Regions from separate parts of the Homo sapiens genome. Here region 1 is linked to region 2. Evidence: promoter capture Hi-C in 16 types of primary human blood cells and fetal thymus (Javierre and others, 2016). All regions are on one chromosome and are shown on one strand. Each heading gives the region's core, a stretch centred on a gene start or on the middle of the fragment in contact. The rest is flanking DNA. Distances are from core to core; before and after follow the strand shown. Region 1 has its middle 2.9 kb from the start of ZNF233. Region 2 holds the start of ZNF155 (zinc finger protein 155).

Region 1 (4,452 bases), core at 473-2,972, 270 kb before region 2:
ATAAAAAATAAGAAACCTTTAGATCACTTTTTACTGTAATACGCAATTTACTAGAGAGATGAACTGCTCACTTTGAGATGATTAGCATTACTTGGAATTTTAAGCAGATATTTACACACATGAGCTCACCACAACAGTGACAGGAGATAGCTATTAAATTATTACAGTAGCACAGCATGTACTACAGTTAACTTTATGCAGGCTTGATTTAATATTGCATCTTTGTTTTACATTTCTCTTGACTGTGAACGTACAGTCTGTGTTTGTGTGTGTAAGTTTTTATAAGTTTTACCTTTTTTTAATAGATTCATGTATATTTTATGGTAGTAAATGATAAAATAGACTAATATCTACATATATTTTATGCATTCATGATATACCTAAATTTTTCTTAATTGTTTGATATTTCTAGACTACACGGCTTATCTGTGAGCTTTTTCAAATTGTTGCAAATTTCCAAAAAAAATTGCAATATATTTGTTGAAAAAAAATTCACATATAAGTGGACCCATGCAGTTTAAACCTGTGTTGTTCAAGAGCCAACTGTATTGTAATTTGGAAAAAAACAACATCTAAATTATATCTTGAAAATGCTTCTTCCCTTATTTCAATTTAAATTTTTTTTTGTATCCACTCAGCTTGCTCTTGAGATGATAAATGCAATAGAATGATCATCAATAGATCAAGTCAATGTGGTATCAAAAATGAAGTAATATTTAGCAGCCTTGTAAAAGCACATATATCAGGACTTCTTGCAGAGGCTTTGTTTCCAATGTGATTTTCTCTAGAAAGGAGAAAGTTGTTTTATTTAAGTTATGGGGGTGGGTATTGTGTATAGAGTGGGGAACTGCCTTTGATATTTTCTATCACAAATTTTTTTAGCTCAGTCAGCAGAATTTTATTATTTTAGCACCAAAGGAATCCTGAATCATGTTTTGTTTTCATCTCAAAGTATTTTCTAATTTCCCTGTAACTTCTATCCCCATCGGTTTTTATGAGTGTGCTGTTTAATTTCCACACATTTGTGAATTTTCCAGTTTTCCTCATTACTGATTTGAGTTTCATTTTTTTGTGGCCTGAGAATACATTTCATGTGACTTTATCTTTCTGTTGATACGTGAGATTTTTTATTTTTATTGAGACCTGTTTTGTGGCCTAATGTATGATCTATCCCAGAAAATGTTTCATGACCACTTAAGAAAAATATGTATTCTGCTGGTTTTAGGTGGGGTGCTTTGTATATATCTGCTAGGAGTTTGGTTTATGTTTCCAAATCCTCTAATTCTTTATTGATCTTTTGTCTGGTTGTTGTATCCATTATTGAAAGTGAGATACTGAAGTCTGAAAACATTGTAGAAATATTTATGTCTCCCTTCAGTTCCATCAATTTTCACACCATATATTTGGGGACTAGCTGTGTAATGTCTGTATTGTTATATCTTCTTGATGGATTGACTCTTTTGTCAATATATAATGTCATTGTTTGTCTCTTGTCAAGTTTTTTACCTAAGTCGATTTTGTCTAATATTAATACAATTACTTCAGTTCTCTTTTTTTACATCCTGCATGGAATAATTTTCTTCCATTTTTTCACTCAACATTTTTTGTCTTTGGATTGCAAATAAGTCTCTTATAGACAGCATATAGTTGGATCATGCTGTTTTATCCATTCTGTCCATTTTTGCCTTTTAACTGGAGAGCTTAATCTATTTGCATTTAAATTAATTCCTGATTTTAAAACGGCCTTGCTTCTTTCACTTTGTGATCTGTTTTCTACATGGCTTATCTTTTTTGTTCCTAGGTCTCTTGATTAATGCCTTCTTTCCTAGGTCTCTTGATTAATGCCTTCTTTTCTGTTTGATGTTTTTGCAGCGTACCTTTTTCTTTTTTTTTCCATTTTGAGACAGGGTCTCACTCTGTCACCCAGGCTGGAGTGCAGTGGTGTGATCTCAGCTCACTGCAACCTCTGCCTCCTGGGTTCAAGTGATTCTCATGCCTCAGCCTCCCAAGTAGCTGGGACTACAGGCATGCACCACAATGCCCAGCGAATTTTTGTATTTTTAGTAAAGACAGAGTTTCACCATGTTGGGCAGCCTGGTCTTGAACTCCTGACCTAAAGTGATCCACCCACCTTGGCCTCCCAAAATGCTGGGATTACAAGCGTGAGTCACCATGCCCGACCTGTAGTGTACCATTTAATTTTTCTTCTTATTCCCTTTTCTGTATATTTTCTTAGTGATTACCCTGTGGTATACAGTTAACGTCTTTTTTTCTTTTTTGAAACAAGGTCTTACTCTGTCACCCCGGCTGGAGTGCAATGGGTGTGATCTTGGCTCACTGCAGCCTCAAATTCCTGGGCTCAAGTGGTCCTCCAGCCTCAGACTCCTGCATAGTTAGGACTACAAAAATGTGCCATCACACCCAGCTAATTAAAAAAAAAATTGTAGAGACAGGGTCTCACTATGTTGCCCAGGCTGTTCTCAAACTCCTGGCCTCAAGCAATCCTCCTGCCTCACCCTCCCAAAGTGCTGGGATAACAGATGTGAGCTACCACAGCTGGCCTATTTTTCCAAATTTTATTATGAAAAAATTTAAAGATGCAAAAGTGTTGAATAGTATTAATTCAAACTATATTGTAATACATTAAAGAAGTTAATATAGCTTGAATTAATACTAACCTAGCTTCCAAAATATAAAAAATCCTGCTCCCGTATCTCTGTCCTCCTCCCTTTAGGATTTGAAAAATTACATCTTTATACATTGTGTGCCCCATTAACATAGATTTGTAACTATTTTACTCATTTTTCTTTAAATCATATAGGAGTTATGAGCCAATAATACAATAATATTGGCTTTTGTGTTTACCTATGTAATTACTTTACCAGTGTTCTTTATTAATTTATATGGCTTCAAGATTTAGTGTTTTTTCACTTCTGCCTGAAGTATTTTGTATTTCTTGTAGGGCAGGCCAACTAGCAATGAACTCCCTCAGTGTTTGTTTATCTAGGAATGTCTTAATTTCTCCTTCATTTTTGAAGGATGGTTTTGCCAGATATAGGATTCTTGGCTAACAGGTTTTTTTTATTTCATTACTTTAAATATGTCATCATACTGGCTTCTGGAGATCATGGTTTCTGATGAGAAATGGGTTATTAATCTTATTATAGAGGCTTTGAACATGAGGTGTCACTTTCTCTTGTTGATTTTGAGTCTCTGTCTTTTTATGGTTTGATTATAATGTGTCTTGGTGTGGATCTCTATGCATTTATTCTTCTTGGAGTTAGTTCCTTGAGCTTCTTCTATGTGTAGATTCATGTCTTATAAGTTTGAGAAGTTTTTGAACATTATTTCTTCAAATATTCCTTATACTCCTTTCTCTCTCCTCTTATTGTGACTCCCATTGTGCATATGCTGATATGCTTGATGGCATCCCACAGGTATCTGAGTTCTACTTACTTTTTCTTCTGCTCCTCAGATGGAATAACTTCAATTTACTTATCCTTTAGTTCACTGATTTTTCTGCTTGCTTAAATATACTGTTGAAATCCTCTAGTGAATTTTCATTTCAGTTATTATACTCTTCAGGTCCAAAATTCATGGTTTTTAAATAATTTCTACCTATTTGATATCTTTTTTTCAGACATGATTCTCCTGGTTTATTATTTTTGTTCATGGTTTCCTCTAGTTCTTTGAGAATATTTAAGACAGTTTATTTAAAGTCTTTGTCTGGTAAGTCCAGTGTCTGTGTTTCCTTGGGGACAGTTTCTGTTCATTTATTCTGGGAATGGACCATAATTTTTTATTTGCATGCTGTGTACTTTTTTTTTGTTTGTTTTATAATGTGGTATCTCTTAAAGTCAGATTCTTCCTCCTGCTCAGTTTGTTCTTATCTTATTGTGGATCGTAATGGTTTGTTTAGTGACTGTTACAGGTTTAATTTTGTCTCCCAAAAAGATATGTTGAAGTCCTAACCTGTGAACATGACCTTACTTTGAAATAGGGTTTTTGAAGATGCAATCAAGATGAGGGCATTAGGGTGTACCCTCATTCGATACGACAGTGTCCTTATTAGAAGAGTAACATACCATATTAAGACTGAAACACATGGGGAGAATGCCATGTGACCACAGAGACAGAGCTTGAAGTGATACAGCTAAAAGCCAAGGAATATCAAAGATCAATGGATACCAGCAGAAGCTACTAAGTGGTAATGAAAGAGAGCATGGCCCTTCTGACACTTTGATTTTGGAGGTCTAACCTGGAGAAAACTGGGAGAGAATGAATTTTTGTTGTTCAAGCCACCCAATTTTGTGCCATGTGGTAAGAGCAGCTCTGGGAAATGAATAGTGAGTTTTCTAAACTACTTTTTTTGTAAAACTGGTATTCCCTGTATTGTGTGGTATCTAAGGCCTCTATTCTTTTCATTTATTTTTACCCAGTGTGTTAACAGGG
Region 2 (4,913 bases), core at 79-2,578:
TCCACAGAGCCATGGTGTGGCGTAAATGTATTTATTTCCATAAAGCCCTTAGAATTAAGTTACCAATTAAGGTTTAATTATTATCAACACCCATGCCCAAGGACACATCCTATACACTCTTGGTTGAGGTGAACATCTCTGTAAAAGAAAAAACCGGCCCGGCGCGGTGGCTCACACCTGTAATTCCAGCACTTTGGGAGGCCGAGGCAGGCGGATCACTTAGGACCACAGGTTCGAGACCAGCCTGGCCAACATGGTGAAACCCCGTCTCTACTAAAAATACAAAAATTAGCCGGGCATGGTGACGCATGCCTGTAATCCCAGCTACTCCGGAGCTGAGGACAGAGAATCGCTTGAACCCAGGAGGCGGAGGTTGCAGTGAGCCAAGATCGCGCCACTGCTGCACTCCAGCCTGGGAGACAGAGCAAACCTCATTCTCAAATAATAACAATAATAAAAACAGACTAACAAAATAAATAACTTTTTTTTAAAAAGAGAAAAGCCAAAGACCACTCGTGTAGACAGCTTTGTCCTCAGTAGCCAAGTCCCTCCCTGCAGCTCTTTTAGAAAAGTCAGGCTGGGGAAGGAGAAAGCTGTCAAACACTCTGCGTCGCCGTCCCGGATACAAGTTAAATGCTCCTCTCCCTTCGTGAAACGTGGATGCAACCCACGCCTTCCTAAAAAGAGGTCAGAGGCGTCCGGGATCATCCAGAGCCCTGCCGGGCTCCAAGAGAAGGGCCGGAGCAGCTGGAGCTCTGACCCCACCCGGGCACCTGACCACTTCGCGGGAAATTAACAGGACACCAAGTGACAGGAGCTGTTAAGTCTTTGTTTTATACCACAACTTTCAACTCCTAAAACAATTCTATCAGGATGGTCCTGAAATCCTCATTTAAAAAACGGCAATGGGAGGTACAGGGAGATTAAGTAACACCCCACGTTATATCGCGAGAAAGAGGTCGCACACTTAAGAGTGGAGGGAGGCGGACTGAACGAGGTCAAACACCTGGAAAACCCTCTAAACAGGCACACAAGACTAGACAGAGTTCTTCCCCGCCCCCCCCGAACCCCCGACGACTCCTCCGGTGGACCTGAGTACAGCCCCCAACGCCAGAAGGCTCCATCGACGGCAACGAAACTTCCCTCCCACCCCTCGCATCTCCAAACCTCAGGTCTTCTCCAGGGCTTCTTACCCCCTTAGTTGACCCCCCAGGTCGTTAGGCGCCCCTAATAACTGGTTCACTTTCGCAAAGACCCGCAAGACACATACTTGGCTCAAACCACCTTGTTAAGTAGCAGTGTCCTGCTCGGAGACCGGAAGTGTCGATGATGCCACAGGCGTCTGGACTACACTTCCCAGAATCCCCCGAATCCGCCTGCCTGAGCCAAAGTTCCCACGACTCCACAGAGCAAATGGACTCCACTTCCCAGAATTCACAGGTCCTCCTGCCTGGGCCAAAATTCCCACGCCTCCCAAGCTACTCGCGAAACGCCTGCGGGAGCCAAATTTCCTGCGCATCGACCGGGCAATTAGACTCCCGCAGGCGTTTCGCTGGTATCTTGGGAAATGGAGTCCATTTGCTCTGTGGAGGCGTGAGAATTTTGGCTCAGGCAGGTGGACCTGTGAATTCTGGCCTATCAACCTATATTTTTATTTTAAAAAAATGGAGTCTCATGTTCTATATCAATTTTTCTAAACTAAAAAAGAATACTTTTCATGGTTTTCTTTAGATAAAGTGACTGTGCCAACCACAGTATGAGGAACACTTCTCTGAAAATTGAGTGACTGCTATTTCTAAACCAGTTACAGCTGTATCCTTGCTCTGTTCTGCCCTCCCAAGAGATAAAAATTTATTGACACGCTCAATCGTAGTAGGCAGGAAACTGTGCCTAATATATTAGGGTATATCTGGCATCAAAGGCCCTTTCTGTCCCCCAGGTCCTTGCACTCTGGGCCTGTGATGGGAGGAGAAGCTGCCATAATCTGTGAAATGCCTTTGGGGTCATTCTTCCATTGTCTTGGACAATAGGTCCTGGCTTCAGTTGACATGGCCAATCCATACTAAATTCATGAATTAGTTAGTTGCTTAACCATACCCTTGTATTCTTCAGGTTTCCTGTTTTTTTTTTTTTCCAAAGTAGATAGGCTGTAAACTTTTAAAAATTTTAGTTCTGTTTCCCTTTTAATTAATAATTATTTCAGTCATTCCTCACTTCGTGCCTTTCACTACGGGTAGTCAAGATGATTCAAGCAACTTCAACACTTTGATTAGAAATTAATTCAGATAAACAATTATATCATTCACAAATTCTACCTTCCATAAAACACTAGCACCTGAATATAATTCAGCCAAATTCTTTGTCCCTTTATAACAAGAAGCTCTCTTCTCTTCCAATAACATGTTCAACATTTCTGACTGAGGTCTTCAGAATGGCCTTTACTGTCCATATTTCTACCAACATTCTGATCATGACTACCTAGGTATGCTCTAACAAGATTGATGTTTTCTCTACAGTTCTTATTCTCTATTTCTGAGCGCTAACCAGAATTGTCCTTATCAGTCCATTCATGGCAATGTAGGCTTTTCCTAGCATACATGTAAAAACTCTTCTAGACTCTATCCATTACATAGTTCCAAAGACTGCTACATTTTTAGGTATTTGTTGCAGCAGCAAGCCCACCTCTCAGTACCAATATTTTTTAGTCACAAAATATCATAGCCTGCCTGGCTTTTATTTTATTTTATTTTATTTTATTTTATTTTATTTTATTTTATTTTATTTTATTTTTGAGACGGAGTCTTGCTCTGTCGCCCAGGCTAGAGTGCAGTGGCGCGATCTCGGCTCACTGCAAGCTCTGCCTCCCAGGTTCATGCCATTCTTCTGTCTCAGCCTCCCGAGTAGCTGGGACTACAGGTGCTCGCCACCATGCCCGGCTAATTTTTTTGTATTTTTGGTAGAGAAGAGGTTTCACCGTGTTAGCCAGGATGGTCTCGATCTGACCTTGTGATCCGCCCACCTCGGCCTCCCAAAGTGCTGGGATTACAGGCGTGAGCGACCACGCCCGGCCGGCTTTTAAGCAACAGAAATCTATTCTTCACAGATCTGGAAACTGGGATCCAAGATCAAAGCACTGGCAGATTTTGTGTCAGGTAGTTGGCCACTTTCTTGTTCATAGTTAGCACCATATTGCTGTGTCTTCATTTGGTTGAAGTGACAAACAAGCTCCTTCTGGCATTTTTTATAAGGGTATTCATCCCGTGACCTAATCACCCTCCAAAGGCCCCACCTCCTATTACCATCACATTGAGGGTAAAAATTACAATATATGGATTTTGGTGGGCCACAAACATTAAGACCATTGCATACGCATCATGCAGTGTCAGAGTTACTAATTCATATCATTGTAAAAAACAATGCAAAAGTAGAGTTCAACATTTTTTATAGTTCTTTTTGTCTTTAGACTGAGGATATATAGTCAAACACTGTACTGTTTAATAAGTTGCTTAAATTACTTCTTGCTGTCACCTTTAGACTGTTTATGTTATTGATTTGAAATACATTTAGGTTAATTTGTTATTCTATGATTTTCACTTTCCTAGTTTATCTACAAAGAAATCTCATTCTTGATTTTATATTATTGGGTATGTCAGTCATCAACATGTTCCCATGAGTCAATGCTCTACCACATATTATTCTCAGAGAAGTGCCACTCCCCTCCTTCCTACCCCTAAACCAATTCCACAGTGTTGCCACCTAACACCTTTATGTAACTAATTTTATTATTTTCATTACCACTTTTTTTTAACAGAATAGATGTGTTTCTTATTTTTCCTTTTTACTTAAATGTTAGGATAGTACACTTCTAATTCTTCTATATTCACATAATAACATCTTGGAAATCATGTCATATGGAGTAATTTATTTTTAAAACTGCATAAATTCCATTGAGTGGTTTATATAACAGTGCTGCAATTTATGGACATTTCAGTGACTTCCAATATTTTATTATTACAAATGATGCTGTTATAAATACACTTGTACATTTGTATATTATCCCTGTTGAAGATACATCAGAAGAGTACATCCCAGAAAGCAGGATTGAAAAGTGAAGATATTAATAGAAATTTTGTTGCATATTGTCAAGTTGCCTTAATTTTTTGGTACCATTTCCATTTGCAGAAGTAATGTATAAATATACTCTTGCCTTGAAACTAGCTAACAAAATGTGTTATTACAACATTTTTAAAGTTTTGCCAATCAAATGGTAAGAAGTGTATTTAAATTTAGTTTTAATTTATATTTCTTGTTTTTTAAATAACATAGAACATTTTTGCATATTTCCTGTGTCAATATTATTTTTCTTTTTGTAAATTGTTCAAATCTATTACCCATTTTTATGTTGAGTTTTTGGTCTGTTCGCCTCAATTTTTTTTTTTAGAACAAGGTCTTGCTATGTTGCCAAGGCTTGTCTTGAAGTCCTGGGCTCAAGCGATTCTCCCACCTCAGCCTTGTAAAGTGCTGATTTACTAACTAGGGCCAGCCAAAGGCTCAACCATCACTATCTTTCATTAACATTTTAATCACTTTTGGCTTTTCTGGGTCATAGGGTCCTGATGGCAGAGAAACTTACATAGCAGCTGGGACACATTGCACAGACTTATCTTGGATGAGTCAAAATGTTTTCAGGTCACACAAAATAGGCAAAGTAGCACGCCTCAATGAGGAATAAGTAGCATACAATAGCCCCAGTGGTCCACTAGGCGTTGTGACGCTATTTTTTGATCGTAGGAAGGGCTATATTCTACTTGCCCTACACCCAGAAGGGATAGCTCAATAGGCCTACATCAGTGAACTTGTGGAAATTTCACCAAGGTGAAAGGCCCATGAATTATTATAAGATTTATTTCTTC

The links. The method cuts DNA at HindIII sites, captures the fragments that hold promoters and counts their contacts. A CHiCAGO score of 5 or more calls a contact.
Region 1: a contact is called between a fragment that was not itself captured here and the fragment with the promoter of ZNF155 in region 2, in 1 of 17 cell types (naive CD8 T cells). The highest score is 5.2, in naive CD8 T cells.

The regions. Positions count from the first base shown.
Region 1 is chr19:44,254,772-44,259,223 of GRCh38, reverse strand. No RefSeq gene overlaps it. Among named protein-coding and RNA genes, the nearest start is that of ZNF233, 2.9 kb to the left of the region's middle. The HindIII fragment of the contact is 5,812 bases long and covers 1-4,452 here.
Region 2 is chr19:43,980,603-43,985,515 of GRCh38, reverse strand. ZNF155 (zinc finger protein 155) reads right to left here and starts at 1,328. Exons shown (of 5, transcript NM_198089.3): 1 at 1,271-1,328. It also overlaps a transcript of ZNF221 not described here. RefSeq lists a silencer at 1,432-1,631. The HindIII fragment of the contact is 8,717 bases long and covers 1-4,913 here.